Regions from separate parts of the Homo sapiens genome. Here all the other regions are linked to region 6. The links are contacts of gene promoters, found by promoter capture Hi-C in blood cells and fetal thymus (Javierre and others, 2016). All regions are on one chromosome and are shown on one strand. Each heading gives the region's core, a stretch centred on a gene start or on the middle of the fragment in contact. The rest is flanking DNA. Distances are from core to core; before and after follow the strand shown.

Evidence for each region. Contacts are between HindIII fragments. The CHiCAGO score rates a contact against its expected background, and 5 or more counts as called.
Region 1: a contact is called between a fragment that was not itself captured here and the fragment with the promoter of SYK in region 6, in 1 of 17 cell types (total B cells). The highest score is 6.2, in total B cells.
Region 2: a contact is called between a fragment that was not itself captured here and the fragment with the promoter of SYK in region 6, in 1 of 17 cell types (total B cells). The highest score is 5.4, in total B cells.
Region 3: a fragment that was not itself captured here is called in contact with the fragment with the promoter of SYK in region 6 in 1 of 17 cell types (neutrophils); the score reaches 6.0 in neutrophils.
Region 4: a contact is called between a fragment that was not itself captured here and the fragment with the promoter of SYK in region 6, in 5 of 17 cell types (total B cells, naive B cells, monocytes and 2 more). The highest score is 7.1, in total B cells.
Region 5: a contact is called between a fragment that was not itself captured here and the fragment with the promoter of SYK in region 6, in 1 of 17 cell types (fetal thymus). The highest score is 6.2, in fetal thymus.
Region 7: a fragment that was not itself captured here is called in contact with the fragment with the promoter of SYK in region 6 in 1 of 17 cell types (naive B cells); the score reaches 5.3 in naive B cells.

The regions. Positions count from the first base shown.
Region 1 is chr9:90,168,372-90,172,459 of GRCh38, forward strand. No RefSeq gene overlaps it. Among named protein-coding and RNA genes, the nearest start is that of MIR4290HG, 130 kb to the left of the region's middle. The HindIII fragment of the contact is 650 bases long and covers 1,074-1,723 here.
Region 2 is chr9:90,126,328-90,130,666 of GRCh38, forward strand. No RefSeq gene overlaps it. Among named protein-coding and RNA genes, the nearest start is that of MIR4290HG, 87 kb to the left of the region's middle. The HindIII fragment of the contact is 373 bases long and covers 1,619-1,991 here.
Region 3 is chr9:91,428,694-91,432,981 of GRCh38, forward strand. It overlaps a transcript of NFIL3 not described here. Among named protein-coding and RNA genes, the nearest start is that of NFIL3, 7.0 kb to the left of the region's middle. The HindIII fragment of the contact is 3,988 bases long and covers 463-4,288 here.
Region 4 is chr9:90,144,273-90,148,445 of GRCh38, forward strand. No RefSeq gene overlaps it. Among named protein-coding and RNA genes, the nearest start is that of MIR4290HG, 100 kb to the left of the region's middle. The HindIII fragment of the contact is 2,101 bases long and covers 1,552-3,652 here.
Region 5 is chr9:89,810,037-89,814,338 of GRCh38, forward strand. No RefSeq gene overlaps it. Among named protein-coding and RNA genes, the nearest start is that of LINC03062, 170 kb to the left of the region's middle. The HindIII fragment of the contact is 1,627 bases long and covers 649-2,275 here.
Region 6 is chr9:90,800,447-90,804,819 of GRCh38, forward strand. It overlaps SYK (spleen associated tyrosine kinase), which reads left to right and starts at 1,373. Exons shown (of 14, transcript NM_003177.7): 1 at 1,373-1,447. RefSeq lists silencers at 1,122-1,331, 1,352-1,511. The HindIII fragment of the contact is 2,717 bases long and covers 571-3,287 here.
Region 7 is chr9:90,190,441-90,194,383 of GRCh38, forward strand. No RefSeq gene overlaps it. Among named protein-coding and RNA genes, the nearest start is that of MIR4290HG, 150 kb to the left of the region's middle. The HindIII fragment of the contact is 2,596 bases long and covers 1,039-3,634 here.

The DNA.
Region 1 (4,088 bases), core at 149-2,648, 630 kb before region 6:
TAGTTCAGCAGTATTAAGTATCTTTACATAAGTATGCAACAATCTCCAGAATTTTTCACCTGCAAATCTAAGGCTCTGTACCCATTCAACACCAACTCCCCATTCATCCCTCTCTCTATCCTCTGGAAATGACCATTCCACTTTCTGTCTCTAGAAATGTGACTATTTTAGATACTCCGTATAAGTAGAATCACATATTATTTGCCTTTATGTGATTGGTACATTTTCCTTAGTATAATGTCCTCCAGGTTCATTCATTTTGGAGAAAGTTAATAGGATTTTCTTCTTTTTAAATACCATTCCGTTGCATGCTTAATAACCACATTTGCAGTGCATTCATCCCTGGATGGACATTTGAGTTGCTTCCACCTCTTTGCTATTGTCAATATTGTATTCAGTGGGAGAGACAGACTGGAATGTGTTTGCCCCATTTTAATCAGGGGAAGAATAGTACTGAGATTTACTAGTTAAAATTTTTGTAAAAAAGAGTATAATTTCCCTTTATTAATGAAAACCATATAGCCCTTGGAATTGAAAATTTACACAGGCTTGTGAATAGATTATACAGATACTCAAGCCAGGCAAATATAACTTAGTTTAGTACCGTTTGTTTATATGTCTCCCTGGAAATATGTTCTTTTGACAATGATAAATATTAATAGACTGTTATAAAATGTATATATTTGGATGCTATATTGTGTTTAAATCCTTTCAATTTCAGGTAGGAATATGTTTTTGTGACCACATTAAGTGAATAAAGTTTCAGTTTGACTTAGTAATTAATAAAGTGCAACTTGTGATTGACAATCCTCTTCCCAGATAATAGACTTTTATGAGGTAAATCAACTCTAGAAAGAATGTGCTCTTCCCTAGTGTGACACTTAGAAACATTGTTAGTAATAAAACCCTCCACAATTCTTTCAGGTATAATTCACCAAGCCATGCAAATGTTGTAAAATCCAACTAGATTCGGGTAAACTTCCATTTTATTGAGTGGATTTATGATATTTAGGGATTGATTCATGGCATACGACTGATCACAATAATTGGTATCTCCTTCAGCAAGTTTATGAAGCTTTATCTTTTTTTCTTAGTAAAATGCATATATCCACTATAACTGTCATTAAAAAAAAAACTTGAAATTCATGAGGAAAAGCATCTTATTTTACCATGAAGGATTTATTTATTTTTCTAAGTGCTGCCCATTGCTCTTATGAATCGTGTACTGTGCTCTTCAACTTGCTTGTTTCTGTAAATTATTATACATCTACCAAGGTGTGTCTTCCAGAGAGTGAAGGTCATTGTTCTGGAGTAGGCCCTTGAAATAGCATCCACGTAAGTGAAAGTAAATAGCAGAGATAATGGAGTCAAAAGTTTAAATTAACCCTTTCTAGATTATCCAGGTCATTTGTTTTTCCTAGAGATAAAGTATAGAAACCAGGATGATTTATCCTACTATTCAAATGATTTAGTTTTAACTTTCATTGTAAGTTCTTGTTTTTATCAAAGTAATACATGAAAATGGCTTAAATTCTTAAACAGTGCCACAAATGTTGGAACAAGAAACAGTAATCTCTTGCCATACTACTGATTCTCTCTTTCTAGAGAAGGCAATTTTCAACCATTTTAGCTATTTACCTTTTTTTTTTTTTTACTTAGATAACATACCTTATTAGATATTCCTGGATTTTCCTCTCCCCATGGTATCTTTATTTCTGTTGGAAGCTTTTAAAACCATTAAAAATATTCAAATAGATGAATTTAAATATATTAATATTTTACTTAATGCTAGATAAGATGCTACTTATATAGAGAGTGAAATATGCATACTATAAAATTGGTCACTTTAACCATTTTCAAGTGGACAGCCTATTGTCATTAAGTACATTCACATGTTGTGCAGCCATCACCACCCTCCATCTCTAGGACATTTTCATCTTCTAAAACTGAAACCCTGTACCCATATTCCTTAATTTTTAAATTTTATTATGGCCTACTGATTTCTTACATGGAAGGTGAAAATCAGAAATAAACTCCTCTCACTGCTTAGGCAGGGACTAATACAAGGCAGTTACGGTGTTGGAGCAGAATGGAAGAAGGGGTCACTCGGTGCTCGCCCTGCCCCTGTGTGAACCTGAGAATGGGCCCCCTCAATTCTGGGCCCTGCTGGTCTCCCTGGCATCATCCTCTCTGGGTCCTCTATGCTGCACTCCACCTCCCTTCCCTCACAGATGCCATCCTTAACCCCATTCTGTCAGTATAACCACAGCATTTTTTTAAGTTAAATCAATATTTAGTGTTTACTTAGTTCCTGTAAAAATTGTCCTAATCTATGCAATCATATGTACATATTCTTTCACATTAACATTATATTTTTTGGGGTAATTGTATTATTTGATTATTCAGTTAATACTGGAGCTTGTTTACAAATATGGCCTCCAATGAACTACACCTTTCAGTTTTCTTGCCTTTGTGTAGTCTGCCTCTTGAATCAGAGCTAGATTTTGACCAAAGAGTGTAGTGGAGGTGACCTTCCGGGCCTTCTGAGGCTACATCACAAGGCACTTTGCAGGTGCCTTGAATACACTGGAGGAAGCTGCTGTGATGGATTATGACTACCTTGAGACTACCCTCCCACCCATAGCTGTAGTGGAAGGTAGCCTAAGTTACCATGTCCAGAGACTGTGTGCACAGAAAGAGATGCCTGGCAGCCATGCTGTGAGGAAGCCCAAGTCAGCATGTGGAGAGGTTGTGTGAACAGAAACGGAAGACTGGCCATTCTCTGGCTGTTCCAGGAAGCACCCAGGCACAGACATGTGAGTGAATCATTTGGTATCTTCAGCCATTGACCTTTCAGGTGACTCCAGCCTCAGCAATATCTGCCTATAATCACAGGAGAGGCCCTCAAGTGAGCCCTGCTGAGCCCTGTCAAGCCCTGTCAACCCACAGAAGCTTGAGAGGTAACAATAAGTTATGATTTTAAACCACTGAGCTTTGGGGTTTGTTACACAACTGTAGATAATAGAAACACTTAAGAGTCTATGAATCCCAATGTGTATATCGTTCCTAAACCCTTTGATTAAACTGAAAAGCTCCTTCAAATAAAGTCAAACATATTAATTAAGCTGTCAGATTACTTTTCCCCCTTGGAGACATTTCTTCAAAAGCCCCTGTTCCCTTCTCTGATGTCACAGGCCTACTGCACAGATTCAATCCTGGACATCCCAGTTTCATCCTGGGAATTCCCTTTTCCGCTCTCCTACATTGGATCCTGGTTCCCAAAACCCATGTCTTCATCTTTCTTTTTCCAAGGACACATTATCTTATTTTGCCTTGCTTAGGAGTAGAATTATTGTTAATTTGAAGATTTCTTTGGCTCCCTACAATATCTCTCTTCTGAGTTTTCTATGTTTTTTCTGTTTGTCTTCATTTCCATATTTTTTGTTAGAGGTTTTGTTAAAGGTTCTCCTCAAGTTCTGGTGACTCTTATTTGTTGGTTTTTATTTAAGTGTAAGGCAGTAAAACATCAATCCTTAACTCCATGGGCATGGGTGAGTTAGTCATTGCAGAACTTTTGTGCGTGGCAGTAATGAGACGGGTCAGATTTTTTAATCTGCAGGGATTTCTTTCCGTTGTTTCATCACTTTTTCTTGGAGTGTGTTTTTGTATGCAGGGGTAAAACTGATAATAAGTCTGGCTGCCAACATTTTAGAAGACACTCTGGTAGAGTAGAAGACTGTCTTTGGTCAGGGCAATGTATTCCTCAATCTTTTGGTGGGCAGAAGAAAGAATGGAGTCTAAGCTGACATGGTGACACTTCCTTATACTTTGAAATAGAAAGAAACATGGATCCTGAGTGAGGTAAGAGAGGTATGGACCTCAGCAAATACCTGGGGAAGGTCTTGTCTTAGTGCAATTAAAAAAAATTGAAGCTACTCATCAAATACAAGGCTAACATTAAAAAAATAGTGGTTAGCTCTTCAATGAAAATCAAAGAAAGAAATAACAAATATACTTGGACAAAAATTACTTTGAGGAATCAGTAAAATAAAACAATGTATTCATATGGTCAGTAAACAATCATGTTG
Region 2 (4,339 bases), core at 555-3,054, 670 kb before region 6:
CCTGAGCCCTGAAGTTTCTGTCTAAACATGAAGCAGGTGAGCAAGCACTGAGAATTAATTACCCCTTTTGCCACATACATTATATCATTTCCTTATGATCTCCTTCTGGGTCTACGATATGAACGTCTTCCAAATTAGACCTTTCTCCAGAGTGCTGCTTAATTCCCAAATATTGTTTGGTTCATTTTCATGTGGACATATTATTATTATAATGCTTTTATAGTAAGGTGCAGGGTCAAGTTACAAGGTCAAAAAGAGCGTGAATATGTAATAAAGCTTCATGAGACGCTATATGCTGTTGGGGACCATCTCTATAGTGATGAAAAGAATGAGAGGCACTCTCCAGTTTCGCCTATTTTCCCTCCTTGCTTTTTCTCTCCCTTTCCAAGATTAGATTCTCTTGAATTTATGTATTTTAATTCTCAGTTTCTCTTCTCTAATCCTGATGCATTTTTCCCTTCTCCTGTTCAACAGATTTTTCTCTGGTTAATGCTTTCTATTCAACATACAGAATTCTAGATTGGAAGTGGTGATTTTAAGACTGAAATGATTTTATTGTCTTCTGGTATCTATTGCCACTAATGACAAATCTGCTAATTGCCAGTCCTTTGTGGGTCTTTTTTCTCTGGTAGTTTTAAAAACTTTTTTTTCTTTAATAGCCTTTTGCTTTACCCCAATATGACTAGGCTAATTTTTCTTTACCTTGTTATTCATTTCTTCCTCCAGTCTGAAAAATTCTCAGTGAGTTTTTCAAACATGAGTTTATATCTTCAACTGTTTTCTCTTTCTGTGCTGTGTAGGCAGATATTATTTAGTTTATCTTCTTATTTACTGAATATTCCCTCCCTTCCCTCCCTCCCTCCCTCCCTTCCTTTCTCTCTCTCTCTCTCTTTCTTTCTTTCTTTCTTTCTTTCTTTCTTTCTTTCTTTCTTTCTTTCTTTCTTTCCCTCAGATGGAGTCTCGCTCTGTTGCCCAGGCTGGAGTGCAGTGGTGCGATCTTGGCTCACTATAAGCTCCGCCTCCCAGATTCATGCCATTCTCCTGCATCAGCCTTCTGAGTACCTGGGACTACAGGCACCCACCACCATGCCCAGCTAATTATTTTGAATTTTTAGTAGAGATGGGGTTTCACCATGTTAGCCAGGATGGTCTCGATCTCCTGACCTCGTGATCCACCCACCTCGGCCTCCCAAAGTGCTGGGATTACAGGAGTGAGCCACCACACCTGGCCTGAATATTCTTTCTTTTAAAGAGAAAAATGATAGATAATGTTTATACTGTCTTTCAAGAGTTTTTTAAATTTCAATGACTATATTTGCCATTTCTAACATTTCTAATTGATTACTTTTTAGGTACACATGTTCCCTGTGCTTTCCTTCATAATATTTTTCAATGCAGCTATATCCCTCTTTTGTCTTTCAGAAGATATGAAAAAATTATATTACAGCTGTAATATACAGCTGTGTTGGGCTACTTTGCTAGTCTTGAGTGAATACTCTGCTGTATTTGCTGCCTGGTTAGTGTTGGTTTCTGCTGTGTGGTCAGAATTTTATTTTGCAAATGCATCTTGAAGAAGAAATTTTAGTTTTTTCTCTGTAATCACCCCAGATGTTTTAGAAGCTTCATTATTGCTCTCATCACCTTATCCCTATGGCTTCATAAAGGCCACAGTTCCTGTATGGACAGCCTGAGCTTCCTGTCCTGGAGTGACACTCAGTATATCTGAGATCAAGTTCTCGAGGTAGCAGTGGCTTGGCCAGGTCCTGGCACTATGCATGTGTCTGCTGAGCAGCCTGTGCCCTCCGCTCCCCGGGTATGGCCTGTGTCACCAGCGCTAGCTTCAGCAGCCTTATGCAGTACACCTAGTTCTCATCCTCCACACAAACAGCGTGCTTTCAGTGTGGTTGTCTCTCAGGAGTGTAAGAGATCACACCTCTGTCTCTTTCCACTTCTGAAGGCTATGAGGCTGCAGCTTGCTGTCTCAGGCCTCAAGCTTCCCTCTATGTTTCTGACCCATTTCTGATCCATGAAACTATGTGTGCCTGTTTTTACCTTATTTTTTGTGTTACCTATGATTTCTATGTGGGCGAAGGAGGTAGGATTAAATGCTTGATCTCACAGTGCCATTCTGAGAGGTTTTCAGCCTCTCTATTCTGAATGAGTTTAGCAGCCTCCCCACCCCCCAGCACACATGAAAGGAGGGGGCTCAGAGGGTCTCTTAGGTCCCCAGTGCCAAGGGTTTGGGTGTGATGAAGGACATGATTCCGGTCAGTGCCTCAATCACAAACAGGGCAGGGCAAGAGGGTGCACAAAGTTTGGTGTGACCTGTCCCCATAAATGGAGAAGCAACTCAAATCCCACATCCTGCCCCAAGGCATGAAGAGATAGGTGGGAAAGCAGCCCTTCTCCTCTCCTGGAGGAGGCTCCTCAGTGCCAGCGACAGGATGCTCTGTCCCTGGTATGGACTACTGTTCCCACTGCCCATGTACATAGTAAGCCGTGTGCTATAAAAAGCAACCCATATAAACAGTCACTGAATCGCCTGTTGAATTGGGAACATTCCTGCTGATTAACCTGAAAGCTTTTTCCAATTGAAGATTGGCATAGGGGTTGAAAATATAGAATGTATTCAGTTTTACATTGTTTAGAGTACTCTAAAAAAAATCCCTTTAAAAATGTCTTCAGGCGAGCGTTTTGGAGCACACAATAAACAGCAGATAAAAAGGACAGTATTTCCCAGGAAATCGAAGTTGACATATTTGTTTTCAGTTGCTATTTATGACATGTTGGGAATTGTTCCTCTTTATTTGTGGTTGTATAACAACCCACAATCTAGTTCTCTCACTCTGACCTAATTCCAGAGGTCTGCATGTCCTTCCCCAAGAAGGGCTGGGCTCCTCCTGTCTGACCACTACCTGGCCTTGATTAGTGTGACCTTCTTTTGTAGCTAGGCGCCAGCCATGTGGGGTTGACCCTTATTAGTGGCCATCTCAGGCCATAGAGGGCATGTATTTGTTCATTCCTCAGGACTGATTGTCTGGGAATATGAAGGTCTTTCAAAATTATGCTCCAGATGGAATAGAACCTGGACCAAGTTCTTTCTGCAGTGATAACTAGTAATGGAGTGGTAAACTGTGTGCAAATGGATGGAATCTAGCATCATGGAGGTCCTTATGCATGAACAGCTTGATAACACAGATTAGCAAACACAGAGACCACTCGTCTTATGGTCAGCAGTAAAGTGGACATTGTGCCGATGGAAGTGATCTTCTGGCTTCCATATCTGAAGGACAGATGGCTCGGCTCTGGAAACAGAAGAGCAGAGGGCATGTTTGCTGAGAGAAAACAGGCTGGCATTGCTGCGGAGTGGCCCATTCAATGCAAGGTAGATTCATGGAGAGGAGGGTATATGAGCTGGTGGCACTCTGGCACATCCAGATGATTAAACCAACAGGAAAGTTCTGGCTGGGTGCTCAGGAGTGAAATCCAGGGAAAGGCAGGGATTTGGCAGGATTCCATTAGAGAATATTCAGGAAATGAGGGAAAGAGGCTTTGGGGACCATGCAATAAGAAGACCAAAAGAGGCAGCAGGTCAAGAAAGGAGGCAGAAAGAATGGAGGAGAACCCACGAAACAGAGATCCATGGAGGCTGCGTGTGTGCCTAGTCACCAGAGGAGGAAAGGAGCAGGAGGGCTGGGGAAAGTTCTGCCCTTGTTGAGGTTTCTGTCCAATTCTGGAAGAAGAATTTCAATCAAACTGCAGAGCTGGAGGACAGATTGGGAGGAAGCTGAAATGAATGCAGATAACTACTTTAATATTTGGACAGGAAGGAGAAGCTATCAGGAGACAGGCATCAGGACGTGAAAAATGTTCACTTTAGAACTGCTTTCATGGCCTTTTAGAACAGTCCTGAGCATAATTTACACAGGAGACACCATGCACAACGGGGAAGGAGAAACCCAACATGAAGATAACATATGAAGGAGGAGAGGGAAGGGAGGCAGCCTGGCCTAACTGACACATTAGCACCCAGGATTGAGAGGTCAGAAATAAGTAGCATGAGCATGCATGCCAACCTTGGAAAAGCGAGGGGGGATGAAAAACAAATCAATGAGTGCAAAGTAGTTTTATTATTATTATTATTATTATACTTTAAGTTCTGGGGTACATGTGCAGAACGTGCAGGTTTGTTACATAGGTATACACGTGCCATGGTGGTTTGCTGCACCCATCAACCAGTCATCTACATTAGGTATTTCTCCTAATGCTATCCCTCCTCTAGCACCCCCAACCCCCGACAGGCCCTGGTGTGTGATGTTCCCCTCCCTGTTTCCATGTG
Region 3 (4,288 bases), core at 1,207-3,706, 630 kb after region 6:
TTTGAAAGCATTTCCAAAGGACCCAGGAAAAGACCAGAAAGAGGTGATTTTGCAAAGAAGAGAAAATGTTGCAAGTACACTATTACAAAAACTGAAACATGTCTTTAAATTCAGCCACCACAGATGGCACACATTTCAGTAAGCATTTTTATTCATTCAGATTAAATGGTATATGTGAGTAAGAGTGCCAAAATAAGGGACATTAACAAAAAAAGGTGGGTAGGAAAAAGGAGAATACACTAAAAATGGTCAAGACTGTGGGAGCAGCTAATCGTGTTCATTGCAAAATCTTGGCGATGGAGCAAGCATTGTGGCAGCACTCAGCCAGCAACTGGAACACAGCTAGCAGGGCTATGAGTATATGAAATAGAAAATTGTGAAATATGTTCTAACAAAAATCATTTCATGAAGAATAAGACAAGACAGGTCCACATTGCAATCCAGTTCAAATCAACGAAGTAAAGCTTATCTAAACATTTCTGTGAAGTCATGCACAGGATAGTTTACTGGAAAGAGCTACACAGCTGCAACTCAGAAGCTGAAATTCTGGTGCATTCTGTACCCCATACTCACCAAGGGGATCATTTCACCTCTCTGAATGTCCATTCCTTCATCTGAAACCCGAGGGAGCCAACCAGATGGTTGGCCACGTTCCTTCTCTCATTAGCATGGGTTGACTAACATGCCACCAGCATATATTGCAGAAAAGAAAAACTGCAAATGTGGCATTTGCAGCAAAGCAGCTATGGCAAGCACTGGCTCATTCATAACCTTCCCTTGGCCTAATTGTAACATGGACAAGAGAAAATTACCTTGTTGAGTTGCCCACCAACTTTTGTCACTCCAGAGACAAAAGTTGTCTTCTGGAGTCGTTTGTTTCAGCAAGAGATTAAAGTGAATGCTCTCCGTTTGGTAAATGCACTTAAGAAGTCCGGAAATTGGGTGCTTGACCGCATTTCTGGTCTTCTGAGAAACTTTCAGAAGTGCTCAAGATTCAGGTGCCATTGTGTTTTCAGCTGCTGCTGTGTGATGCTGCTCTCAGGCGGTGCATGTAGGTCTGTGGAGGATTTTGTGAGTCCGCATACTGGCAGGATGATAAAAGAGCCAGCTCTCGGGCAGTCACCAGGAATTGCAGGCAGTAGAGCCCAGTGCTGAAGACCCAGATACAGAGGCCCGTGTCCACATCCCAGCTTGCCCACAGCCACTCAGGAACTCTGTGGCTGTGGGCAACTTACTTTTCTCGTCTGCTGTGTGCCTCACTTTCACCTTTTGACAACCATTTATAATTATAGTATCAATCTCAACTTGTTCTGAGGATAAAATTAGTACCTATTAACTGATTAGGAAAGTGCCTGATATATTAGCAAGTGTTAGCTATTATTATTAACCCAAAAAAGAATCAACATACATCAGAAAAATAGTATCATCAACCAAATACTTGTGCCTGTGCATGCGTATGTGTGTGCGTGTCCATATTAATTACATATACATAATAAATCTTGTTACGCTGCCAGGATCCTATTCAATTCAGATGAACAAGTGAGCATGTACATCTACAAGAAAGAATAACAGAGGTGGATGGGGATTAGAATTCATTCATTCTTCCATTTATGGAGCACCTGCTGGGTGCCAGGCATCCCTTGAACAGTTGAGTGATGTCCCATGCCTGCTGTAGACTTGGCGCTCATTCACTCACTCCCTCACTTAAGGTACATGTTTACTGACTACTTAGCAGGGGCCAGAAACTAAGCCAGGCCCTTAGAGGTTAATGGGAAGATGAGGATGGTGGGTTAAAAGCATAACTCGAATACTGTCGCGGTGTGGTAACTGTCACTGGAAAGACCAGACTGTGTACCAAGAGGGGCTTGAAGGAGAGGAGACCCACATTCCATTGAAGCAGAGGCAGAAGTACTTCCTGAAAGAGGGTATAATTTAATCAAAGTTTTTCTTTTTTATTAAAAAAAATGTTTGGTACAGGGTCTTGCTCTGTTGCCCAGGCTGGAGTGCAGTGGCATGATCATAGCTCACTGCAGCCTTGACCTCCTGAGCTCAAGCAATCCTCCTGCCTCAGCCTCCCAAGCAGCTAGCACTACAGGTGCATGCCAACACACCAGGCTAATTAAAAAACATTTTGTAGAGGCAGGATCTCACTATGTTGCTCAGGCTAGTCTCAAACTCCTGGCCTCAAGTGATCCTCCTACCTCAGCCTCCCAAGTGCTGGGATTATGACCAAAGTCTTAAAGATGTATGGGTATTCTACAGGCAGGAATCATGCCTCAAAAGAGTACCACATAAAGCCAGGCCTAGCAAAGCCAGTGTGGTTGGTGACCAAGGGAACCTTGGGGAGTGACAAGTCCTGGCAGAGAGCTTGATGGAAACCCAGGTTTTGCAAAGTCGGCATGGGAGAGCAGTGTGGAAATGTAGACCAGGCCCAGGCCTAGGGGACCTGGAGTAGCAAAACCAACCAGTACGTTATTCAGGCAGTACGTTATTCAAGCATTTAAAACACATTGTTTTAAATGCTTTTTTTCCCCCAAATGTCACACATTAAGAATTAGTGTAGGGAAATGGTTCAAAGCCTGGACTCTAGAGCTGGGTGGCCATGGGTAAGTCACGTGAAACCTTGATGCCTCAGTTTCTTCATCTGAGAAACAGCACAATAGTACTTTACATATGCTATATATGCTTCAGTTCCTCTACACAGTAAGAATAATAACAAATACTGCTCAAACACCACAGCATGCACACACCGTCTTGGGCGCATCACATATATTAAGATGTTTCATCCTTCTACCATTCCGTGGAGAGGGGAAAGGTGTCACGGGAACAGAGCCTGAGCTTAGGGATGCACTGGCACATGCTCTCCTGTGCTATTACAAAGGGTGTGTATTCATCCCACGAGAGAAAGCCAGCTGGAGACTAGAAGCAAGTGGAATTTGACTTGAACAGTTTAACCACAGTGGAAGCCGACGTGACTTTGGCCTTCAGGGAGTGTCTGTACTTGGGCTATGCTGCTCCAGAGTTCCTTTTGCTTCTGTTCCTGCTCCTGGCTGTCTGGGATGGTTCCCAGTGCAGGACTTGTGCTGCTCAATGACCCAGGCCACACAAGACTTTCCCCCTAATGCATAAGTAAAACACCACTTTCCTTTGTAAAAATGACCTCTCTGCAAGTCCCAGTGTGTCTCCTTCCTGGATCCCCTTTGCCTCACCTGTCCCAAGCCTCTCTTGCTTGCTACTGGACAGGCTTTGTCTTGGACGCCTTTCCCTCTTCTACCACCAGCAGCTAACTTGGGTCTTCCTGGGTTCCCAATGCTTTCCTGCTGCTGCAAGTAAGATGGACAGAACTTACAGATGGGCACCTCCCATCACTTAGGAACTCACACAAGCACAGAGGGCCAGGAACCTGTCTTTCCCAGGGGCTACCGGGGCAGGTGACACAACCCCATGATGTAGGGTAGTTGGCACACTGTCAGGTTAGTTCTGAGCCATGAGTGACAGGAGATGGGATGGAACCAGTAGATAAATACCTCCTCTCTACAATGTTTAGTGGCATGATGTCCCAAATCCCAGCCACAGTCTGTGCTGTCTTGGGGCACTGTAGTCAACCTGGTAGTGTACCTTGTCCTTATAAATGTACTTCCCCTATTTCTCTGTCTCCTCTTCTTTTCCTCCTACTCTTGCAGTTCTAGAATTGTACCTCCCAAGAAAGGCTTAGCACAGGAGATTTGATTCAGGCTCCGGTTTCTGGGAAACTCAGGCCCAGCCAATTTCTTTCGGAACCTGTCAAAGATTCAAAGTGCAGCAATAGTCCCAAAAATAGGTTTCCTGAAAACATGTCCCTCACGAAAAGTAGCAGAGAAAGATGACTCTCAGTCTTGCAGAGAAATTGTCCATTTTCTTATCTTTTGCAGTATTATGAAAACTGTTGCTGACACATAAGAACCTATATATTCCAGTGAAGTTGTTTAGGTTTTTTTTTGCCAGATCTTAATTCTGCTGTGCAAAGGCAGAGCTGAAAAGAAATGGGAGGTTGATTTGTAAAGCATTAGTGTGAGAAGGTCTTAGGGAGGTCTTTTCTAGTACTCTTTTGGAGTATGATATATATTGCTAAAGTAGCTGGAGAGTAGTCAGAAGTATAGCTATTTTGATGTGATAAAAGGAAAACATTTTGAACTGCAGACTAGGAAAGAAAACTTTCTTGTTACTGAAAAATATTTATCTTTACTACTGAATATCTGAAAAGCATTCTTTTTCAGTGTAAATTTAATCATTTAATGGTGAAACAATA
Region 4 (4,173 bases), core at 1,352-3,851, 650 kb before region 6:
GTACTGAAGCAAAGTAACATGTCCATCATCTCACATAGTTACCCATTTTTTTGTGTGTGCATGGCAAGAACAACTAAAATCTACTCATTTAGCATGAATTCCATATATCGCACGATTTTATTACCTATAATTCTCATGTTCTCCCTTAGATCCCTAGACTTGTTCATCCTACATATCTGTTACTTTGTATCCTCTGACCTACATCTCCCCATTACCACTCCCCCGACCCCCATGTCTCCCTGCCCCCCACCCATTGCCCCTGGTAACCACTATTTTGTTCTCTGTCTCTGTATACTTGCATTTTTTTATATAGAAAGAAAAACATTACATCTCACTTACATGTAGAATCTTTTTAACAATGTGAAACATTTAACCTTTTCATAAATCAACAGAAAGTTTCTGATGGCAGTTATACTATTTCACATTTCTACCAGCAGGAGAGTTCCAGCTCCTTTACCTCTTCCAATATGTGGTGTGGTCCGTGCTTTTACTTTGAGCCATTGTATTAGGTGCATACTACCCTCTCATTGTGGTTTTAATTTGATTTTTCCTATGACTAATGATATTTCATTTGCTTGGTTGCAAAACATGCATCTTTTTTGGTGAAGTATCTGTTTAAATCTTCTGCCCATTAAAAAAATTAGGTTATTTATTTTTTAGTATCGAGTTTGAGAGTTTTTTTATATTTACTGAGTAAACTTCTTTACTGTATATATGTTTTGAAAATGTATTCTCTTAGTCTATGGCCTGTCATTTCATTCTCTTGACAGTATCTGTAAGAGTATCCTTTGAAGAACAGACAGTTTTAATTGTGGTGAAAACTAATTTATCAAGTTGTTCTTTTATGGATGTTATTTTTGGTGTCGTATTTAAGAAATCTTTGTCTAAGCCAAAGTCACAGGTTTTCTCCTATTTTTTTTTCTAAAATGTTCTATAGTTTTAGGTTTACAGTTTTGGTCTATTAACAATTTTGGTCTATTAACAATTTTGAGTTCTTTTTTTATGGAGCAAATTATAGGCCAATTTTTCTTTCCTGTGTATGAATATAAAATTATTCCAACATGATTTTCTGAAAAGAGTATTCATGTTTTTGCTGAAACCACACTGTCTTGGTTACTGCAGTTTTATAATAATTCTTTGAATTCTATATTGTGATTCCTCTGTCTTTATTCTTTTCTCAGGTTGTTTTGGATGGTCTAGGTTCTTTGTATTTCCAGACAATTGATTTTTGTATCTTGTATCCTGAATCTTGTTAAATCACTTATTACTTTTGTAGAATTGTATATTTCATTACCTTTTCTAACATAGATAATCATGCTTCTGTGAATGATGATAGTTTTATGTTTTTCTTTCCAATATAAATGCATTTTATTTATTTTTCTTATCTTACTACACTGGCTGAAACCTCAAGTATACCTCAAGTATAATGTTAAATAGAAGTTGTGAATGTGGACATGCCTGTCTTGCCATGATTTTGAAACTCAACCTAATAGCCCCATAGATAGTTTTTGTTTGTTTGTTTTATCATAGAAATTGACTCCCTGATCTTAAAGCTTGAAACTTTTGTTTTATCTGAGTCCCTTCCTTGGGAAATGGTCTTCTGGCCTCTCAAAAAAGGTGTCAAAGAACTGAAACTCCTATTGTTTTCTTCATATCTTGTTTTTGAAGTTTGTTTGCTTCTGTGGAATTTTAGTTTTTATCATATATATATAAGATTTTAAGGGATTTTTTAAACAATATTTTTGTCTCTTTCTGCACTTTATTCTGTCATTCGTGGGATCTGATTACATGTATACTAGGCTAGTTGACACTCCTATAGCTGATAGATGCTTTATACATTTTTTATTTTTTTCTTTCATTTTGTGTTTTATTTTGTATGATTCCTTCCTTCCTTCCTTCCTTCCTTCCTTCCTTCCTTCCTTTCTTTCTTTCTTTCTTCTTTCTTTTTTTGGAAATGGAGTTTCCCTGTTGTCACTCAGGCTGGAGTGCAGTGGCAGTGGCACGATCTCTGCTCACTGCAACCTCCACGTCCCAGGTTCTAGTGATTCTCCCACGTCAGCCTCTCACGTGCCACTGTGCCCATCTAAGTTTGTATTTTTAGTAGAGACGGGATTTCACCACGTTGACCAGGCTGGTCTTGAACTCCTGACCTCAGGTCAGCCACCCACCTTGGCCTCCCAAAGGGTTGGGATTACAGGCATGAGTCACCATGCCTGGACTGATTTCTGTTTTCATTTCTTCAAGTTCACCTGTCAATCTTCTGCAACATCTAATCCACATTAGCCTAATTCAGTACAATTTCATTACACAATGCTGCTTTCATCTGTAGAAGTTTGATTGGGTGGTTCTTGTGTCTTTCATGTTTGTAACATTTTGAATGTATACAATCCATTTATAATAAGTGTTTCAATGTCCTTGTCTACTAATTCTAATACCTGCATCAGTTTTGATTGGTTGATTTTTCTCTTCATTATCTGTCATGCTTATCTGCTTCTTTCTATTCTTATTTTTATTTTTATAGATAATTTTAAAAGACTTTAATTTTTTGAGAAGTTTTAAGTTTATAGAAAAATCAGTAGAATGTCTAGAAAGTTCCTAATCCCCCCCACACACTCAGTTTTCTCTATTATTTACATTTTGTATTAGGGTGGTACTTTTAAAAATAATTGATGGGTTAATATTGATATATTATTATTAAATAGTGTAAATAGATGACTTTAGGGTTTGCTCATTGTGTTGTGTGTTCTATACACTTTGACAAATGTGCAGTGACATGTGTGCATCGTTGCAGTATCAGATAGAACAGTTTCAGTGCCCTAAACATTCCCTGTGCTTCACTATTTATATCTCTCACAAGCCTCTGGCAAACGCTGAACTTTTTTTTTTTTTAACTGTCCTCATAGTTTTGCCTTTTCCAGAATGTCATATAGTTGGAATTATACAGTGTATTGTCTTTTTATGTGGGCTTTTGTTCACTTAGCATATGTTTTTAAGGTTTCTCCATATATATTTTTAAAATAGACTTTATTTTTAGAGCAGATTAGGTTCACAGCAAAATTGAGCAAAAGATACAGAGATTTCACATGTACCCCTCCCCACATATTTGTATCAATATCCCACTATCAATATCCTGCACCCTCACTATCACTATCAATATCCTGCACCAAGAGTGGAATATTTGTTACTATGGGTTAAACTACAGTGAGTGACACATCGTTATCACCTGAAATCCATAGTTTACATTCGAGTTCACTGTTGGTATTGTATATTTGAGTTTTGGCACATGTATAATTACATTTATTCACCATTAAGAGGCAGAGTAGTTCCACTGCCCTAAAAATCCCCTGTGCTCTGCTGATTCATCCCTCCTTCCCCACAACCCCAGCAAGCACTGATCTTTTTATAGTCTCTGTAGTTCTGCCTTTTCCAGAATGCCATACGGTTAAAATCATACAGCATGTAGCCTTTTCAGATTGGATTGTTTCATTTGTTAATATGTATTTAAGATTTTGCAGTGTATTTTTATTGCTTGATAGCTTATTTATTTTCAGTGCTGAATAATATTCCATTGTCTAGATATACCACAGGTTACTTATCTATTCATCTGCTGAAGGACATCTTGTTGTTTCCAAGTTTTGGTAATTCTGAGTAAAGCTTCCATAAACATTTGTGTGAAGGTTTTTGTGTCGATGTAAGTTTTCAGATCATTTGGTAAAATCTCGAGGAGCATGATTGTTGGATTTTATGGTAAGTGTGTATATAGTTTTGTAAGAAACTGCCAGACTATCTTTCAAAGTGGCTATACTGTCTTGCCTTCCCACCAGCAATGAGAATTCTTGTTGTTGCACATCCTCATTATCATTTTCTGTCACTGTTCTGGATTTTAGCTATTTTAATATGTGTATAGTGGTATCTCATTGTTTTAATCAGCATTTTCACAGTGACATATGATGTGAAACATCTTTTCATATGCTTATGTACCATCTGTATCTCTTCTTTGTTGAGGTGTCTGTTAAGGTCTTTGGCCCATTTTTAAACCAGATTTTTTTCTTATTGTTGAGTTTTAAAAATTCTTTGTATATTTGGATAACAATCCTTTATCAGATGTCTCTTTTACAAGTATTGTTTCCAAGTGTGTGGCTTGTCTTTTTATTCTCTTGACAGTGTATTTTA
Region 5 (4,302 bases), core at 212-2,711, 990 kb before region 6:
TGAGCATAACCCCATCTCATATGTTTGCAAAGAACAATGCATGAACCCAGTGCATGGCAGGAATTCAGGGAGCAAAATGAACTTGATGGTTACCCAAGCAGGCAGCAGGAGCTTGGTTCCTGGGTGTGGCTTTTGCGCCCCTGGTTTTAGCTCCAGGGATATTCGTCAAAAGTGTTTAAGGCAAGAGTCAGCCCTGCCTCTGTAGAAATAACAAAGAAAAAACAAATGGCAGGGATAGACAACCCTAGTGGGAAAACACAGATATATGAGTTCCATAGTCACTCAGAGAAATGAAGGGATGAACAAAAGCCCTCATCATTCAAGTGACTTTTCCTAAACTCTAAATAAATCTCGGCTAAACACCCAGGTGTAGGGGCAGTATCCATCACATTCTCAAGGCAGTTGTTTTTTAATTTTTTTTTCCGGGATTAAGATAGAAAATGCTTCAGCTTTCCAAGGCAAAGCGTTGCTGCCTGCATTCTCTGTGTGTCATGTGGCCTCAAGCACACCAGGGGTTTTCCTGGAGTGTGTCCTGGCAGTGAAGAGGCACGCAAGGCATCTGATATCCCAGCACCCACAACTGAACATTTTTATGACATTCGCCCAGCTGTACCTTTATAAAGATATTATGCAGGTTCCGAGAGATTAAGCTTTCCTTCCCAACCAGCTGCTGTGGAATGATGCCCGGCATATGGAGGACAGATAGAATTTCCCACCCTGACATGTGCCGAGAAATTTGACTTTAAAAAGTGTTAATCAGTAGCTCAAATCATCAGCCATGCATGAGGGCAGGACAGCAGGAGTCTGGAAGCTAAATCCACAAATGCATGGGGCCATCCCTGGGTGATCCAGAGAAGGAAGTTCATCCATTCAGTCACATTGAGCATCTCCTGCCAAATGAGGGGTTCCCTGCTTGCTGTAGCTGCAGACCTGAGTTTGAATCCTATGGAGACCTGTTGCTTTGTTAGAAAGTAACAGAGATGTCTGGATGCAGGAATCCGGAGCCTGGTGCTGCCCCGCACTTCATAGGTGTGGTCTTGAACACACTTTTGCTCCCTTCTGGCACTGGGCCTCATCAGAGGGGCTCAGTGAAGTTTGGAGATTGAGTTTGTTTTTCATCTGGATGGACTGCCACCTAAAACATTTCAAAGAGCCCTTGTTTGTCCATCTTCCAGGAAATTTGTCCTGGAGCCTGACCATTCCTTTTTTTGGGGAGGCACCTCTCAGCAGCAAAAGGTGAAGTTAGGGGTGGCAGCACAGGGGTTTGGCCTCAAGAAAGTGGCTGGTGCCCCTGGGATGGTGGCCAGCAGTGAGGAGGAGCTGAGCAGGGGAGGAACTTCAAGGTTGGTTTCAGGTCTGGGGGCTGGAAGTACAGACATGGGGATGGACAGTTCTAGGCTTCGAGGGAGCTGCAGCCCTGGCAGGGGAAGAGGGCTTCATGTGGGAGGGTAGTCAGGGGCCGTCACTGCAGAAGCTGGGTGGCCCTGTCACCAGGGTAATGGACCACAGATAGCAGATATGTCCAGGCAGCTGCAGAGAACATGCTGGATTGCCCCTTTCCAGAGTGCGGGCAAGGCTGGCCTGGCAACAGCCAGGGATCCCCTCCCCAGGTATGAGGTGTGGGCACAGAGCCACCTTCCTCTCCAGGTGCAGGGTGGGATAGGGGAATTGGGGCCAGGGAGGAGGGCTGGGAGCAAAGAGAGGGGGAGGTAGGGGAGGTGAGCTGGGGTGGGGAGGAGGAGGGGATGGGGGTGGAGAAGGTAGAATGAAGAAGAGATGGTGGGGTGGGGAGGAGGGCCGGGGATGGGGAACCTGTGGAGTCCCAGGTGGGGAGCCCTGGGCCAGGCTTGACAATCTCTGTCTCTTTCCAGCCATGAGGTGTGGCTACTTTTGCTTTTTGTCTCTAATGCTGAGAAGAAACACCCACAGAGAAAGTAGACATAAAACCCTTCAGATAACAGGGGGTAGAAATCAAACACACATCCTGTGACTCTGCTGTGCGGGAGGACGGTGCCCCCACCTCCAGGAGCCCAGCTGTAGGGGGGAATGGAGGCTGGGCTCAGCACCGCAGCCCCCATGCCCACCTGCACCCAGGCTCACTATGCAGACTGCTATGTGCGCTGCAGGAGCCAGACGGATGCTTTCTTGCAACAGGCTTGCTGCAGATGGTGTAACCCGTCTGAACGTTCATCTTGGTGGATGAGAGGCTTTCTCTGCACACAAAGCCTGAAAGAAGCCCCTCACTACCTCTCTCAACCATCTCCACTGGAGATGAAGCTTCTCAAGCCCGGGGAAGCCACGGAACCTTCCAGATACGGATGTCCCTTTTGTGGGGTACATTCTGCTCCACAACTGGACAGGAGGTTGAAGCCTCACTTGGCCTGGGGTGCTGACTTCCTCAGGGTCCAGGTGAAATGTAGGGAAGGGCCCTGAAAAGTTAGTGCTGAGAAAGAACTAGGGAGAAAATGTTTTGAACCTCAAGCCTTCCAAATCTTGTAAGAGGCTGGAATACATTTATGCAGAGTCACAGAGAAGTCTCCCAAGCCCAATCCAGGCCATCAGTGTTTTGTGTTCCATTAAGACTGGCACATTTGGAGAAGTGGCTGCTGAGCGTGTGGGTTACGGGGGTACAACTACCCTGGCATGTGGATGGCAGGTGGCCAGGTGGCTGGTGGAGCTGACCTCTGACCTCCAAGGTGTGGCTGAGCCCCACGAGCCAACACTGCCTTGAACCACAGCTACATCAGGTGGAAACACAGCTCAGAGCAGTACCTGGTCACACAAGCTCCAGGGCAGTCTTGAGGGAATGGTCTGGAAAGTTTGAATGCACGTGGCTGTGCCGGGGTAAGGTGACCATGGCGGTATGGCTGCAGCTCCTGGGAACTGCCTGGGGCCAGGAGCTTTGACAGGTGAAGCTGCTCCCTTAGCAGAGTGTATACCACCTGTAGATCCTGCTGCCACTCAGACGCCCAGTGAACCCCCCAGCCCTGCCCAGGGCATTGCATCTGGGGGCATCCCGTGACCTCTCACATACCTTGTATGATGGTTAATTTCGTGTTTCAACTTGGCTGGGCCACAGGGTACCCAGATATTTAGCCAAACATTATTCTGGGCATGTGCGTAGGGTGTTTCTGGATGACACTGGCATTTGAATTGGTGGACTTAGTAAAGCAGGGGGCCTCCCCAAGGACGAGACCTCATCCAGCTCACAGAGATCCTAAAGAGAGCAAAATGGCTGAGTAAGAGGGAATATCCACCTGACTGCATGATCTGAGACGTGGATCTTCCCCTGTCTTCGGACTCAAACTGAACATCAATTTCTTGAGTCTCAAGCTTGCCAGACTTCAGTCTGGAAGTTTGAAGGGATTTCCACCTTGAAAACAGCAGATCTGGGGAAGTGTCAGCCTTCCTACTCATGTGACCCAGCTCTTCTTTCCCTGTGTTTACACACCCACTGGTTCTGTTTCTCTGGTGGACCCTAAAGAATACACTCAGTATTCTCCGCCATTGAGAGGCATGGCCCTCACGCCTCCTTCCTGCTTGGACTTGAGATCAAAAGGCAGAACTACCACCTGCGTTAATGCATCAGGATGTGATGGTGCACAAGGGCTGGTCCTCTCCTTGAACTGCCACAGCACCTGATAGCAGGCACCAGCTTTACAGGGGAGGCTGCCGCAGACTTAGTGAACAGCGTGGTACCATGTGGCAGGAACCACTGTGGGTTTAAGGGCTTGCATACATTTCACATCTCAGCAAAGATGTCCACATTCTCTGATGACACCTAAGATTAGCTTGAAGTTCTTGGAAGAAGCCTCAAATATTATCACCTAATGAAGTTTAGATGTATTTTAGATGGAGAGTTGAGAGTCCTTTTACCCCTTACCTGATTTGAGTCCTGGATGATCTCAGCAACATTGTTTCCTGGGGGCCTGAAAAAAAAAAAGGGAAAGATTGAGGTGGACTAAATTTTTATATTTAAGAGGCGCTCATGCATAGTGTGAGTGTGAAACAAAAAAGCCTGTCTAAATAAGCAAATAAAACAGTGGAAATCCATTTTTTAAACCTGAATGCTGGGGCCTGGGCGTAGTGGACATAGCAGCATTAACATTTGGAAAGAATGCTTGAAAACCCTTTCAAAAGAAGCCACGTAAGAGGTGTGTGCATGCACACACACACAGCCTGTTGATGCAATTTATGTGTCCACATTTAATTTCTAAAAAACCTTCCAAATTTGCAAGCACACAATGCTGTAAGTCCTAGAGCTTCTAGGGAGCTCCCCTTGCAAATCCGATGCTGAGGATC
Region 6 (4,373 bases), core at 123-2,622:
ACTCTGTATTCTATATTTGAGTCCTTGTGGATGAACTGTAACCTAGCTTAATAGGCAGACAAGATTGAAAACCTAATTTAGGAGTATGTGCCTTTAACAATAGCTGAGTCTTGGCCAATCCCAGTGGCCATACTTCAACCATTCATACACTGCTGAGTGTTCAAACTGTGTTCAAAGAAGGCAAAAGCCAACCTGTAACCAATCCAGTTGTTTCTCTGCCTTACCTCCAATTTCTGTATGTCACTTCCCTTTTTTTGTCTATAAATATGTTCTGACCATGAGGCATCCCTGGAGTCTCTGAATCCGCTGTGATTCTGGAAGCTGCCCCATTCGCAAATCATTCATTACTCAATTAAACTGCTTTAAATTTAATTCTGCTGAAGTTTTCTTTTAACAGGTTTAGAAAAAATAATGGCAAAAATGAATGAAAATCCAATAACCCTGGAAGCAGAAAAGGCTGGGGGCTCCAATAAGTGTAAATAGTCCCATCCCTATATTTTCTCCATGGCAATTACAATCCAGCACATTATATATATATTTTTTTGCTTCTCGCATTTTGGCTTAGGGTAAAGCTTTTTAAAACAGGCACTGCCAACCAGTGTTATCAAGAAGGTCTGGATGCCGTTTTGTGGGAACATTTTAAAGAGGAATGTCCAAAAGGAAAAGGGGGATGGGTTGGGAGAAGGGTATCAGGCGGGTATCTCAAAACCATTCTTAGGGCTATAGGTTTAATTTATTTGGTTGTGGACGTCAGAGCCGTCATGGTAAGAAGGAAGCAAAGCCTTTTGTAATAATTAAAGCCTTCAGAAGCAGCGTGCCCCATTGCCCACTAGTGCGCCGTGAAGTCTGGTGTTCACCTACAGGGTCCCTCTCAGCACTGCCCAGGCCTCCCGAGTGCTCCAGCACAGTAGCTTGGAGCTTGTTGGTTTGGTGACCAAGATACACTCCAGGGAATATGCCATGCAGTGGAGTCTCTTCCCCGGCACTGCATAGCAAAAGGAAAGGGCCGCTGGGTGTCTGTGGGTCCTGGGCAGTCACAGAAGCCACCGCGCTGGCGGGGAGGAGGGGGACCGATGCGGTCCATGTCCCGGGCAGCCCCACCTTCTCTGCCTGCGAAGGGCCCTTGTCCGGCGGGAGGAGAGAGGCGCGCCCCACCCGGGCTCCTCTACACCTGCCGCCGCCTGGGCCGATTCCGCGGGCCTCGCCCGGCGCTTCAGCCGATTCCCGCCCAGCTCCGGGCTCATGGGCGCGGTCAGCAGGGCGGGCCAGGGCGGCGGGGCGCGACACTGGGAGGAAGTGCGGGCCGCCTGCCCGGGCGCGTTAAGGAAGTTGCCCAAAATGAGGAAGAGCCGCGGGCCCGGCGGCTGAGGCCACCCCGGCGGCGGCTGGAGAGCGAGGAGGAGCGGGTGGCCCCGCGCTGCGCCCGCCCTCGCCTCACCTGGCGCAGGTAGGTGTGGCCGCGTCCCCTACCCGGCCGGGACTTTCTGGTAAGGAGAGGAGGTTACGGGGAACGACGCGCTGCTTTCATGCCCTTTCTTGTTCTACCTTCATCGGCCGAGGTAAAAGTGCTGAAACCATGTGAATAAAATACAGGTGGGTTCCGCCAGCTTCGCTCCTGAACCTACCCGCGCTCGGGATCCAGAAGCTGCGCCGGGAGAGAGGGGCTCAGGCCTGGGCGGAGGGGACGGAGGTCAGACCGTGCGGAAAGTGACCCGGGCACCCCAGGGCGCCCAGGCCCCCAGGGAGCGCGGAAAGTGCGGTCGCGGCCCGGCCCTCGGGAGACGCGGGATTGGGATCAGGCACAGCGCGAGGAAGTCGATCTTGGAGCTAGAACATTTTCCTTTGGCCATTTACACGAATCCACTGGAAAATGCCGCAGTGTTTATCAAAGTTACTCAAAGTAGAAATGTCCAGACGTCTTATGAGCTTAGACAAATCTTTTACTACAAAAAGAAACAGCAGTTGCATTCAAACAACAACCCTTCTGAACCACTACTAAAATTTAGCATAATTACTCTTGTGGATACATTTTCATTGTCAAGTAATTTACTTAGCCAATGAACTTGGAGAGCAAGAAAGTTTTATGTAGTAAAATGTAAATTTGAGTTAAGAGTTAAGGGTGTTTCTTTTTGTCTGTTTGTCTGTTTTTGGCAATGTGGCTCCAAAACCTTAAGCCCACCTAAAAACTATATAAATGCAATCCATTCTTTTGTTGGAATGTTCAAGGACTAGAAAGACAATTGGAGAAGTGAGAGTTTGAATCTTTTTTTACGTTGGAAACAGTGTTGCAAAATATTTTTTGAGTTTTGCCTGACTTAGCAAAGATTCAGTCGAACTCAAGTAGAGTTCAAAGCATTGCAGCGTGTAGTAAAAAAAAAAAAGAGTTGAAGATGTTGTGCCATATCTGATTCTTGGTATTAAAAATAAAAAAAGGAACCATTTAATCCCTAAGAGTTCCTGGAAGAAATGGAATTGATTCTACCATCTGACTTCTTTGTCTTAGTAGGGACAAATTCATTGCCTTCACACAGGCAGCATTTTAATTAAATGCAACTAAATACATTGATGTCCTCCTTCTCCCCAGTGAAAGTCCGAGCAGTGCATAGATAGAATTATATTTTCTCAAAAAGGCTTAAATACATGTAAATTATTAAGTGTTTTAAGTGAGAAATCTTTGTCAGTTGAAATTATTTTATCAAATCATTTTTGTTCTGAACGGCACTTTTGTTTTAACGTATTTAGAAAACTCTTGCATTAAAACAGAAATTGATTTGTATTATCCCCTGTATTTGAAGTGCACTTTAAAGTGTATTTGAATGAGAGATTATAATCAAATTACTTGATTTGTGTCTTATCCTCTTACTCTTCTACCTTGGATTTGAAAAGGTTGGATTTGAACACTAGGAAAAAAGAGATTTTTCTACTGAGGGATTGTGGGAAGATTTTTTTTTAAGCCTCTGTATTTGAAGTGAAATATAAAATAGGATTTTATAATAGTCTTAATAACTAGAAAGTTTTAAGCTAGGATAAAAATGGGGTGTATACTTTAGGTCTTTATCTTTCCTGAGAGATGAAATTGGTAGAAACGTTATTTTATTGCTAGATTTCACTTTAGAAATGAATCACCCTGATCTTTGTTAGGCCCCTATTTAATATTCTAAATGCAGGTCTAATCTCTCTGCTTTTTTTTAATGGAAGACTTCTTAGTAGAACTTCACTTATTTAGCACATTGTTTGCCCATGGTTATAATCCAATATGCTTGTGCCAAGACGTATTTTGGAATTCAAGCTTTTTCAGAATTTGGAATTAAAATTTAGAATCTAAATTTCAGAACTGAGAAAGACATTGCTCAGAATTTAGAAAGGTAAACATACATGTTGACCCTGCTGGTTACATGCCATTCCAATATAGTCTGGAGAGAATCCTGTAATTCCATGCATTAATATTTCTGTACTTTTACATTTAAGAACATGAATATTCTCACTAAGTGGAATAAATAAAGACTATAAAGAGCTGTGTGTCTGTTTAGAGCAGGTGTTATCACTACGAGAGCTTCTCTAAGACTTACCAAAAAAAAAAAAAGTGTTGTTTTTCAGAGCTTTTTAGAGCTGCAGCTGAGGGACTGAGTCTGTATTAGACTCCACTGAACTACGGTTTGCTTTTAAAAGGAAAGTGCATTTATGTTGTTCAATACTTCACACTTTCCAGTAATTAGAAGGGCAGTTCCTCTCTCTTTAGGGAGTCTTAAATAGCAAGATTTTACTGAATTTTCAATCATACCGATCAAAATAGAGGTACTTCAAGTAAGAGTGGATGTCTCATCTTTGTAATATAATTTCAAACAGCATAGTTTCTGACAGTCTACCATTTTAGAGAAACAGAGCAGAAGTTACTTACAGGAGGGGTTACTGTCACCCTTTACAGCTGCAGTCTGTCCATGGAAGAAATATTATTTCCTGTTAACTTTGCAACCAGCTGGGTTTGTGTCAGTTATCTAAGCCTAAGTGATGGCTAATTTTTACTTTCTCAACTTTCCCTGTATAGATTTTTTTCCAGCTACCCCCTGACTTTTCTACTCTTGCTTTGCTGGTTTTAACATTTTCCACTACTTCTGGATTGGTTTAGCTATAACTGGGTGGAGAAAACAACAACAACAACAGGAATTTAGGCCTTTGGGGAAGAATTTGTTTTGTTTTAGAAGTCTACACATTGAGCATTACTTTTTCTTCTAAAGCAACTAAAATCAGAAGGCAGAGTCCTAATGAGAGATTATGATCAAATTGCCTCATTTGTGTCTTATCACCTTCCTCTTCTACTTAGATTTGAACAGGTTGGATTTGAATACTAGGAAAAAAGGGTTTTCTACTGAGGG
Region 7 (3,943 bases), core at 1,087-3,586, 610 kb before region 6:
TTTAAGTTCTTTGTAGATTCTGGATATTAGACCTTTGTCAGATGGATAGATTGCAAAAATTTTCTCCCATTCTGTAGGTTGCCTGTTCACTCTGATGATGGTTTATTTTGCTGTGCAGAAGCTCTTTAGTTTGATTAGATCCCATTTGTCTATTTTGGCTTTTGTTGCACTTGCTTTTGGTGTTTTAGTTATAAAGTCTTTGCCCATGCCTATTTCCTGAATGGTATTGCCTAGGTTTTCTTCTAGTTTATTTATGGCTTTGGGTTTTACATTTAAGTCTTTAATCCATCTTGAATTAATTTTTGTATAAGGTGTAAGAAAGGGGTCCAGTTTCTATTTTCTGCATATGGCTAGCCAATTTCCCCAGCACCACTTATTAAATAGAGAATCCTCTCCCCATTGCTTGTTTTGATCAGGTTTCTCAAAGATCCAATGGTTGAAGATGTGTGGTGTTATTTCTGAGGCCCCTGTTCTGTTCCATTGGTCTATATATCTGTTTTGGTACCAGTACTATGCTGTTTTGGTTACTATAGCCTTGTAGTATAGTTTGAAGTCAAGTAGCATGATGCCTCCAGCTTTGTTCTTTTTGCAGTATTCATTTTTGTGAGTAGTAATATTGTTTCTTTTTTCTTTAGCTTGTCTTCTTTCTGGGACTTCCATAATGCATCTATTGGTCTGCCTGATGGTGTCCCATAAGTGCCATAGGTTCCTTCACTTTTCTTTTTTCTTTTTATCCCTCTGACGCAGTACTTTCAAAGGACCTGTATTCAAGTTTTCTGTTTCTTTCCTTTGATCCTGCTTGATGTATATACCACATTTTGTTTATCCCTTCATTCATTGATGGACATTTGGATTGCTGAAACCTCTTGCTTAATGCAAAAATCTTTTTTCATACTCCACAGGTTGACATTTCACTTTATTGCTTCTTATGATGAGCGGAAGTTAAAGTTTTCTACAGTCCCACTTGTCTATTTTTACTTTTTTGCCTCTTCTTTTGGGGTTATATCAAAAAACTCACTGCCAAATCCAATGCCATGAAGCTTTCTCCCATTTTTTCATTTAGAAATTTTATACTTTTAGGTATTAATTTTAGTTCTGTAGTTAATTTTGTGTTTATTTTTGTAAATCTGTAAGGTAAACATCCAGCTTTATTCTTTTGCATGTGGATACCTAGTTTTCCCAACACAATTTGTTGAATAAACTGTTAATTTTCCTATGTGTGGTCTTGGTACTTTTGTCAAAGATTGTTAGATTGTTTAATCATATACATGAGGAGTTGTTTCTAGACTGTATTCTGTTCCATTGTTTATAGCTCTGTCTTTATGGCAATAGCATACTGTTTTCATTACTGTAGCTTTGTAATAAGTTTTAAAATCAGAAAGTGTGGGGCCTTCAGCTTTGTTCCTTTCAAGATTGTTTTGGCTATTTCAGAGTACCTTTAGATTGCTTGTGAATTTTAGCATTTTAAAAATTTCTTTTAAAATTCCATGAAATTTTGAGCCATTGTGGTCAGAAAACATACTTTTTAATATTTATCATCATTTAAAATTTGTTGTTTTTGCTTATCATGTGGTCAATTATGGAGAATATTTTATGTGCACTTGCAAAGAATGTCTGTTTTGCTATTACAGCGTGGAGTGTTCTGTGTATTTCTGTTAGATTCAACTGGTCTTGGAATTATTTAAGTCCTGTGTTTCCTTTTACATCTTCACTCTGGTTATTCTATGAATCCTTAAAAGCGTGGTACTGGGGGGTGGAGCCAAGATGGCCAAATAGGAACAGCTCCAGTCTACAGCTCCCAGCATGAGTGACGCAGAAGATGGGTGATTTCTGCATTTCCAACTGAAGTACTGGGTTCATCTCACTGGGGAGTGTCAGAAAGTGGGTGCAGGACAGTGGGTGCAGCCCACCGAGCGAGAGCTGAAGCAGGGCGAGGCATCCCCTCACCCGGAAAGCACAAGGGGTCAAGGAATTCCCTTTCCTAGTCAAAGAAAGGGGTGACAGATGGCACCTGGAAAATTGGGTCACTCCCACCCTAATACTGTGCTTTTCCAACGGTCTTAGCAAACGGCACACCAGGAGATTACATCCTGCACCTGACTCAGAGGGTCCTATGCCCACGGAGCCTCGCTCATTGCTAGCACAGCAGTCTGAGATCAAACTGCAAGGAGACAGCGAGGCTGGGGGAGGGGCACCCACAATTGCCAAGGCTTGAGTAGGTAAACAAAGCGGCCAGGAAGCTGGAAATGGGTGGAGCCCACCGCAGCTCAAGGAGGCCTGCCTGCCTTTGTAGACTCCACCTCTGGGGGCAGGGCATAGGCAAACAAAAGGCAGCAGAATCCTCTGCACACTTAATGTCCTTGTCTGACAGCTTTGAAGAGAGTAGTGGTTCTCCCAGCACACAGCTGGAGATCTGAGAATGGACAGACTGCCTCCTCAAGTGGGTCCTTGACCCCTGAGTAGCCTAACTGGGAGGCAGCCCCCAGTAGGGGCAGACTGACACCTCACATGGCCAGGTATTCCTCTGAGACAAAACTTCCAGAGGAATGATCAGGCAGCAACATTTGCTGCTCACTAATATCCACTGTCCTGCAGCCTCCGCTGCTGATACCCAGGCAAACAGGGTCTGGAGTGGACCTCCAGTAAACTCCAACAGACCTGCAGCTGAGGGTCCTGACTGTTAGAAGGAAAACTAACAAACAGAAAGGACATCCACACCAAAACCCCATCTGTACATCACCATCATCAAAGACCAAAGGTAGATAAAACCACAAAGATGGGGAAAAAACAGAGCAGAAAAAATAGAAACTCTAAAAATCAGAGCGCCTCTCCTCCTCCAAAGGAACACAGCTCCTCACCAGCAATGGAATAAAGCTGGACAGAGAATGACTTTGACTAGTTGAGAGAAGAAGGCTTCAGATGATCAAACTACTCTGAGTTAAAGGAGGAAGTTTGAACCCATGGCAAAGAAGTTAAAAACCTCGAAAAAAAATTAGACGAATGGCTAATTAGAATAATCAATTCAGAGAAGTCCTTAAAGGACCTAATGGAGCTGAAAACCAAGGCACGAGAACTATGTGATGAATGTACAAGCCTCAGTAGCCAATTCGATCAACTGGAAGAAAGGGTATCAGTGATGGAAGATCAAATGAATGACATGAAGGGAGAAGAGAAGTTTAGAGAAAAAAGAATAAAAAGAAATGAACAAAGACTCCAAGAAATATGGGACTATGTGAAAAGACCAAATCTACGTCTGATTGGTGTACCTAAAAGTGACGGGGAGAATGGAACCAAGTTGGAAAACACTCTGCAGGATATTATCCAGGAGAACTTCCCCAATCTAGCAAGGCAGGCCAACATTCAAATTCAGGAAATACAGAGAATGCCACAAAGATACTCCTCAAGAAGAGCAACTCCAAGACACATAATTGTCAGATTCACCAAAGTTGAAATGAAGGAAAAAATGTTAAGGGCAGCCAGAGAGAAAGGTTGGGTTACCCACAAAGGGAAGCCCATCAGACTAACAGCTGATCTCTCAGCAGAAACTCTACAAGCCAGAAGAGAGTGGGGGCCAATATTCAACATTCTTAAAGAAAAGAATTTTCAACCCAGAATTTCATATCCAGCCAAACTAAGCTTCATAAGTGAAGGAGAAATAAAATACTTTACAGACAAGCAAATGCTGAGAGATTTTGTCACCACCAGGTCTGCCCTAAAAGAGCTCCTGAAGGAAGCACTAAACATGGAAAGGAACAACCGGTACCAGCCACTGCACAACCACACCAAATTGTAAAAACCATTGAGGCTAGGAAGAAACTGCATGAACTAACGAGCAAAATAACCAGCTAACATCATAATGACAGGATCAAATTCACACATAACAATATTGGCCTTAAATGTAAATGGGCTAAATGCTCCAATTAAAAGGCACAGACTGGTAAAT